Regions from separate parts of the Homo sapiens genome. Here region 2 is linked to region 1. The links are contacts of gene promoters, found by promoter capture Hi-C in blood cells and fetal thymus (Javierre and others, 2016). All regions are on one chromosome and are shown on one strand. Each heading gives the region's core, a stretch centred on a gene start or on the middle of the fragment in contact. The rest is flanking DNA. Distances are from core to core; before and after follow the strand shown.

Region 1 (3,169 bases), core at 598-3,097:
AAACAATCTGAGAAATTTGAATATGAACTGAGCATTAAATTATATTAAGGAATGCCCGGGCGCGGTGGCTCACGCCTGTGATCCTAGCACTTTGGGAGGCCGAGGTGGGTGCATCACGAGGTCAGGAGATCGAGACCATCTTGGCTAACACGGTGAAACCCCGTCTCTACTAAAAATACAAAAAATTAGCCGGGTGCAGTGGCAGGCACCTGTAATCCCAGCTACTCAGGAGGCTGAGGCAGGAGAATGGCGTGAACCTGGGAGGGGGAGCTTGCAGTGAGCCAAGATAGTGCCACTGCAGTCTGGCCTGGGCAAAAGAGCGCAAGACTCCTTCTCAAAAAAATAAAAAAAAAAATTTAAAAAATTATATTAAGGAATTATTGTAAATTTTTTTAGGTGTCATAACAGCACTTAGGTTATGCAGGAAAATGTCCTTATTTCTTGGAGATGCATAATGAAATATTTAGAAGAGAAATGTCATGATGTCTATCATTCATGTTTAAATACTAAAAAGAAGCAAATATTGTAAAACATCAATAACCATTAAGTATGGATGATGAGTATGTAAGTATTCATTATGCATTTCTGTCCTTTTTAAATTTTATTTTATTTTACTGGAAAGCAAGAGAGGAAGGAGATCAAATCTGAACTTAAGAAGCTCACTCCCCTACTTATTGGATGACTAGAGTGGAAGCAAAAGAGCAGTTACTAGCTGATTGCTGCAGTGGTCGTGGTGAAAGAGCACAGTGTTTCAGTTCAGGTAGTGAGGATGGACAGAAGTGGACTGATGGGAGATGTATTTTGCAGGGAGAAACCATAAAATGATTGATAGCCTCGAGGTGGCACAGACGGAGAGAAAGGAGAGTCAAAGCTAATGATGAGGCCAGGCCCGGTAGCTCACACCTGTAATCCCAGCATTTTGGGAGGCGAAGGCCGTTGGATCACCTGAGGTCAAGAGTTCAAGACCATCCTGGCCAACAAGGTGAAATCCCATCTCCAATAAAAATGCAAAAATTAGCCGGGCAAGGTGCTGTGCGCCTGTAATTCCAGCTACTAGGGAGGCTGAGGCAGGAGAATGGCTTGAACCCAGAAGGTGGACATTGCAGTGAGCCAAGATCACGCCAGTATCCAGCCTGGCCAACAGAGCAAGACTCCATCTCAATAAAAAATAAATAAAAGCTAATGATGACAGCTAATATGTATGGAGCATGTAGTATGCACCAGTCCAGTCATCCTTCTAAGTGATCCATATTAGTGTAACGAACAAAATCTTCACAATCACTGTGTGAGGCGGGTAGTAACTATTAACACCTCCACTTTGCAGATCAGGAAACTTGGACGCAGACAAGTTAAACAAGGTGCCCAAGGTCATACCCTTAGTAGATGCCCTGCTAGAACTGGAATCTAGGCATGCCTAACCATTTTTTCTTAAGGAAGAGAACAGTATCTTCAATGACAATGAGTAAGAGTACTTATTCTACCCACTTTTCTGCTTCTTGTCTTCGGGTTTATCGTTCTGGACCCACCTATCTTTCCTGGCCCCCCACTTAACTTAACCCTTTTCACCCACCCTGGGGCGGGGAGACAGAGGTGATCCTAGAAGAGGGCTACAGGGATGGGGCCAAGTGGGAATTCTAGCGAGGCGCCTACTATTTGATGGAGGAGGGATGGGCTAGGTAGGTCCCCCGCTCCGACAGGGCTCTTACGCCATATGTGACGCAAATTAGCTTACGAGCCGGGGGTGGAGGTGTCGTCAGCACCCGCCTGCGGTTGGCCGCGTTGCAGCGAGAGGGGCATGTAGACCCCGCCTCGTAGGGAGGTGGGGAGCGGCAAGCCCCGCCTCAGCCCCTCTGGCAGGCTCCCGCCAGCGTCGCTGCGGCTCCGGCCCGGGAGCGAGCGCCCGGAGCTCGGAAAGATGCGGCGCCCGCGGCGGCCTGGGGGTCTCGGGGGATCCGGGGGTCTCCGGCTGCTCCTCTGCCTCCTGCTGCTGAGCAGCCGCCCGGGGGGCTGCAGCGCCGTTAGTGCCCACGGTCAGGAGGAAACTTGGGCTGGCGGGTGGTGGGGGGCGGGGAGCAGCTTGGGGCCTGGAGCGAAACTCGGTGGGGGTGAGGGTGAAATGTCATGAAGCTCGGGGAGAATATGGGTTGGGGGAGGCATGCGAGATGAGGAAGGTGAGAGGGCGTCTCGGAGGAAAGGGGCGTAGGCCTGGAGGTGGGGCTGGGAATACGGGGGCGGGACCTAAGAGAATTGGGCTCTGGGGAAAATTGCAGGTTCGGGAGAAGGACACGGGGTGCATGTGGGCAGAGGGACTTAGAGACCGGCTGCGAGACCACAGGAGAAGCCACTTGCTCCGAGGCGCCTGGGAGGTGGTGACAGGCGCTGAGGAATGGGAAGGGGAGGTGGCGGGGAGAATGAGGGAACGGTGATCTCTGGGCAGTGGAAGCCTGGGCCGCAGACATAGAGTCCCAGCTGGGCAGAGAGAGAGGCCAGGGTTTCTCCGTAAGCCTAGAGAAGCTGATTGCAGCGATCTGATCTCCTGTAACGGGGGACAGCACGGGGAGGGGGCAGAAGAGGATGAAGAGGGGAGGGTCCTCTCTTGTCCCCCTCCCCACAGCCAGGCCTGGTGCTGACTCACATCTGTGCGGACAGAGACAGTCAGCGCTGACTCACGGACAGGGGGTGGGGGATGGGAGGGTGGCGCGTGGGGGAAGGGGCGCAGCCTCGCCGCCTGGCGCCCTCTTTCCCCACCCGGGCTTGGAGGCCCGAGAGGCAGAGTACTTCCTGTGACGCTGTGGGTTGGCAGAATACAACAGAGGGCTCAGGTCTAGTGGAGAGTCCTCGCTCTGTGACCCCTTCCTCTCTGGTAACCGCCTCCAAGGCCAGCCCTTGGCGGCGCCAGACTCAGAGCTTCAGCACCGCGGACAGCGCCAGCGGCTCGGGACAGCGCGAGGAGAGATGCCTAAGAGACACCCTCCCCAGCCCCACCCATGCCCTCTTTCCCCCGACCGGGGGAAGTGTGCTAGAACCTCTTCTGAGTTCCAGGCCATTATAGGATGCTTTTCCATATTTGGGAAGGAAATTCCTCTTTCAGAATTTGGCCAAAACCTCTCCTGCAGTAATTCTATGAATCTCTCTCCCTGCACCTGGAAGGTTTCTTCCCTATCACTCA
Region 2 (3,169 bases), core at 271-2,770, 140 kb after region 1:
GTGGGTGCTTGTTTGCTCACTCGGCCTTCCTTCTGTCCCTTGCAGACATTGCTGTCGAACTGCTCCAGAAGGCAGCCCCCAGCCCTATTCGCCGACTCCAGAAGAAATATGTAGCTCATGTGTCCCGGTGAGCCTGGAAATGAGGATAGGATGAGAGTGTTTGGGCCCTAGAGAAAGGGGAATCGTCTTTTCTTTCTTTTCTTTCTTTCTTTTTTTTTTTTTTGAGACAGTCTCACTTTGTCACCCAGGCTGGAGTGCAGTGGCACAATCTCGGCTCACCGCAACCTCCGCCTCCTGGGTTCCAGTGATTCTTGTGCCTCAGCCTCCCCAGTAGCTGGGACTACAGGCACACACCACCGCCCCTGGCTAATTTTTGTATTTTTAGTAAAGACGGGGTTTCACCATGTTGGCCAGGCTGGTGTCAAACTCCTGGTGTCAGTCCACCCACCTTGGTCTTCCAAAGTGCTGGGATTACAGACATGAGCCACCGTGCCCAGCCAGGAATAGTTTTTTTCCAAAGATAAGAGGTAAAGACAGGAACGAGCATCATAAGACTTGCAAGAGCTGAAGGACCCTTGGGTTTAATTAGTGATCCTTTCTACCACCCAGGGAGGCATGCATCTCCCCATGTGCTATGATGCTGGCTCTGGTGTACATTGAACGGCTCCGGCACCGAAACCCAGACTACTTGCAGCATGTGTCATCCTCTGACTTGTTCCTGATCTCCATGGTAAGACACCCCCTCCCCATCTCCCTAAAGAGCCAAGAGCCTGCTATGAGCTCTGCTCCACCACTTCTGGTTCCTCTGCAGATGGTGGCCAGTAAGTACCTCTATGATGAAGGGGAGGAGGAGGAGGTCTTCAACGACGAATGGGGAGCTGCTGGGGGTGTGGCCGTGCCCACTCTCAATGCCTTGGAGAGGGGCTTCCTGAGTGCCATGGTGAGCAGCTGTTCTCTCTCTTGCTCAGTTTCCCTGGCCCATCTTTAACCGTCCTTTAGTCCTTTGTTCTCTCTCAGTCTTCTGTTGGTTCGTCATTTCTCTTCCTGTCCTCCTCCTGCCTTTGTGTTAGTGTCTTCCTTTCCTATCTCTTCAGTACTAACCAGTTTTTGGAGATTCGTAGAGCAGTAAGGCCAAGAGCAGAACATTTCCTCGCCTCCTCTATTCCTCCAGGGCCCCACAGGGTACACTCTGAGTCAGAGTTTATCCTATTGGGTTCTGAATATTTGTGTCCATACTTTCTCTGCCCCTAGATGTTTAGCTCCCTGTGGACACAGACCATTCTCAGGGTCATTTTCTCCCCTCTTGCTTAGTGGAGAGTATAATGTGAAACCAGGCAGGTGGTGATTCAATGAGTTAATGTGTAAAAACTTTTGAGACAGTATCTGGCACATGGTAAGTGCCAAATATGCATTAGCCATAGGGGCGGTTGTAGTTGCTGCTATGGCTCTTATTATTAAATGACTGTGGCTCATCCAAGTCTGGTTTGATGTCCACTCTCCGTACTCACAGGATTGGCATCTCTACACTGACCCTCGGGAGATCTTTGAGGTGCTGAGCTGGTTGGAGAGCTGGTAGGTTCTAGGAGTTGGGAAGAAGGGCTCGAGGGATTTGGGGGCTGAGTCCTCAGCCATAGGAGCTAGAGATGAGAGTCTGTGTAACTGGGGGAGGGAGGAGACAAGAAAGAGAATTGCCCAGATAGTGGTTCCCAGACCCATCTGTCCTCTTCTTCATCACCTTTGGGAAGGTGAGAAGCAGCTTATTTAAAATACATGTATTGGGTGGGTATGGTAGTTATGTCTATAATCCTAGCACTCTGGGAGGGTGAGGCTGGAGGATTACTTGGGTCCAGGAGTTCGAGACCAGCCTGGGCAATATAGCAAGATGCCTGACCCTACCAGAAAAAAATACTAGCCAGATGCAGTGGTGTACACCCATAATCCCAGCTACTCAGGAGGCTGAGACAAGAGGATCATTTGAGTCCAGGATGTTGAGTCTGCAGTGAGCTATGATTGCACTACTGCACTCCAGCCTGGGAGACAGCAAGATCCTGTCTTAACAAAATAAATAAATAAAAATAAATAAAATATAGGTCTTGGTCTCACCCTTAGTTTCTAGATCAGCAGATAGCCTAGGAATCTGGGTTTAACAGGCTTCCCAGTGTTTCCTGGTGGGTCCTGAGTGGTATGAGGGTGCCACTGGGCTGGCTGCAGGACAGTTGCATACTCTTGTCATTTCTCCACTTCCCCCAGTGTGGCTGAGCAGCAGGGACGGTGGCGAGGCTGGTACACCTACACAGACCTGTGTGTGCTGCTGGAGCAGCCGACCTGGCAGTTGGCCCTGGGCTCCCTCTGCCAGCGGCTGGTAAAGGTGAGGAGGGGCTCGGAAGGATAGGGAGCTTGAGCAGGCCGGTGTGTAGGGTGGGATGGTGTGAAGTGATTGCTGAAAAGCCCAGGAGATGGGGTTGGGAATAGATGGGCAGAGTGGGGTGTAAATGGCTATAGAGACCTCCAACTGGAACACAGATTTCTAGAGACAAGGGGTGAATGTGTTAAAGACAGATTCCTTCTTTCTTATCTCCTCTCCTGCAGCTGTCTTGCCTGTTAGCTGTGGCATATGTGAGCAGTGTGGCCCTGGCTGTGGCATCGGTGGCCGTAATACATCAGTCTTTGGGGCTGTCCTGCATCCCTACACCTGGGCCGCCTGACCTTGGACTGACCTCCCGTTGCCTCCTGGAGCCCTGCATACCTTCTGTGCCACAATGCCTGCCGTCTCTCGCTAATGTCTCCAGCTGCCTGGAAGGCAGCATGGGGCTGCGGTCACTCTGGGGCAGTCTTCTGGCCTCACTGACTCCTCCACCATTGCCTCCCCCAGACCCCCCTGCCCCTCCCACTCTTCTTCATAACTGCCACCTTTGCCAGAAGCTCCAGAGAGACTCCCCAACCTGCCATGCCTGCCTCCACCCCAACCGTACAGTCCCCACTGCGCTGTCCAGCCCCTGGTACCATACCTATGGCCTGGCTCCCCCCTGGCCTTGGAGCCCGGTGCTCCTTTCACTTCCTCAGCCTCAGCAATGTTCCCTTTTCAGTGTCATGGAGCTGGCTCGCCTCAAGTCTTTCGTTTTCCCAGGCTAGGTAGGGCTGTGAGGAATGCATTAAGAGGGTTTGGGAG

The links. Contacts are between HindIII fragments. The CHiCAGO score rates a contact against its expected background, and 5 or more counts as called.
Region 2: a fragment that was not itself captured here is called in contact with the fragment with the promoter of PTPRN in region 1 in 2 of 17 cell types (M0 macrophages and fetal thymus); the score reaches 5.9 in M0 macrophages.

The regions. Positions count from the first base shown.
Region 1 is chr2:219,308,079-219,311,247 of GRCh38, reverse strand. PTPRN (protein tyrosine phosphatase receptor type N) reads left to right here and starts at 1,847. Exons shown (of 23, transcript NM_002846.4): 1 at 1,847-2,030. The coding sequence starts at 1,916. The HindIII fragment of the contact is 26,349 bases long and covers 1-3,169 here.
Region 2 is chr2:219,172,549-219,175,717 of GRCh38, reverse strand. CNPPD1 (cyclin Pas1/PHO80 domain containing 1) reads left to right here. Exons shown (of 8, transcript NM_015680.6): 3 at 46-127; 4 at 610-730; 5 at 812-940; 6 at 1,511-1,572; 7 at 2,251-2,368; 8 at 2,590-3,169. The coding sequence ends at 3,132. Among named protein-coding and RNA genes, the nearest start is that of CNPPD1, 2.8 kb to the left of the region's middle. The HindIII fragment of the contact is 3,353 bases long and covers 1-3,169 here.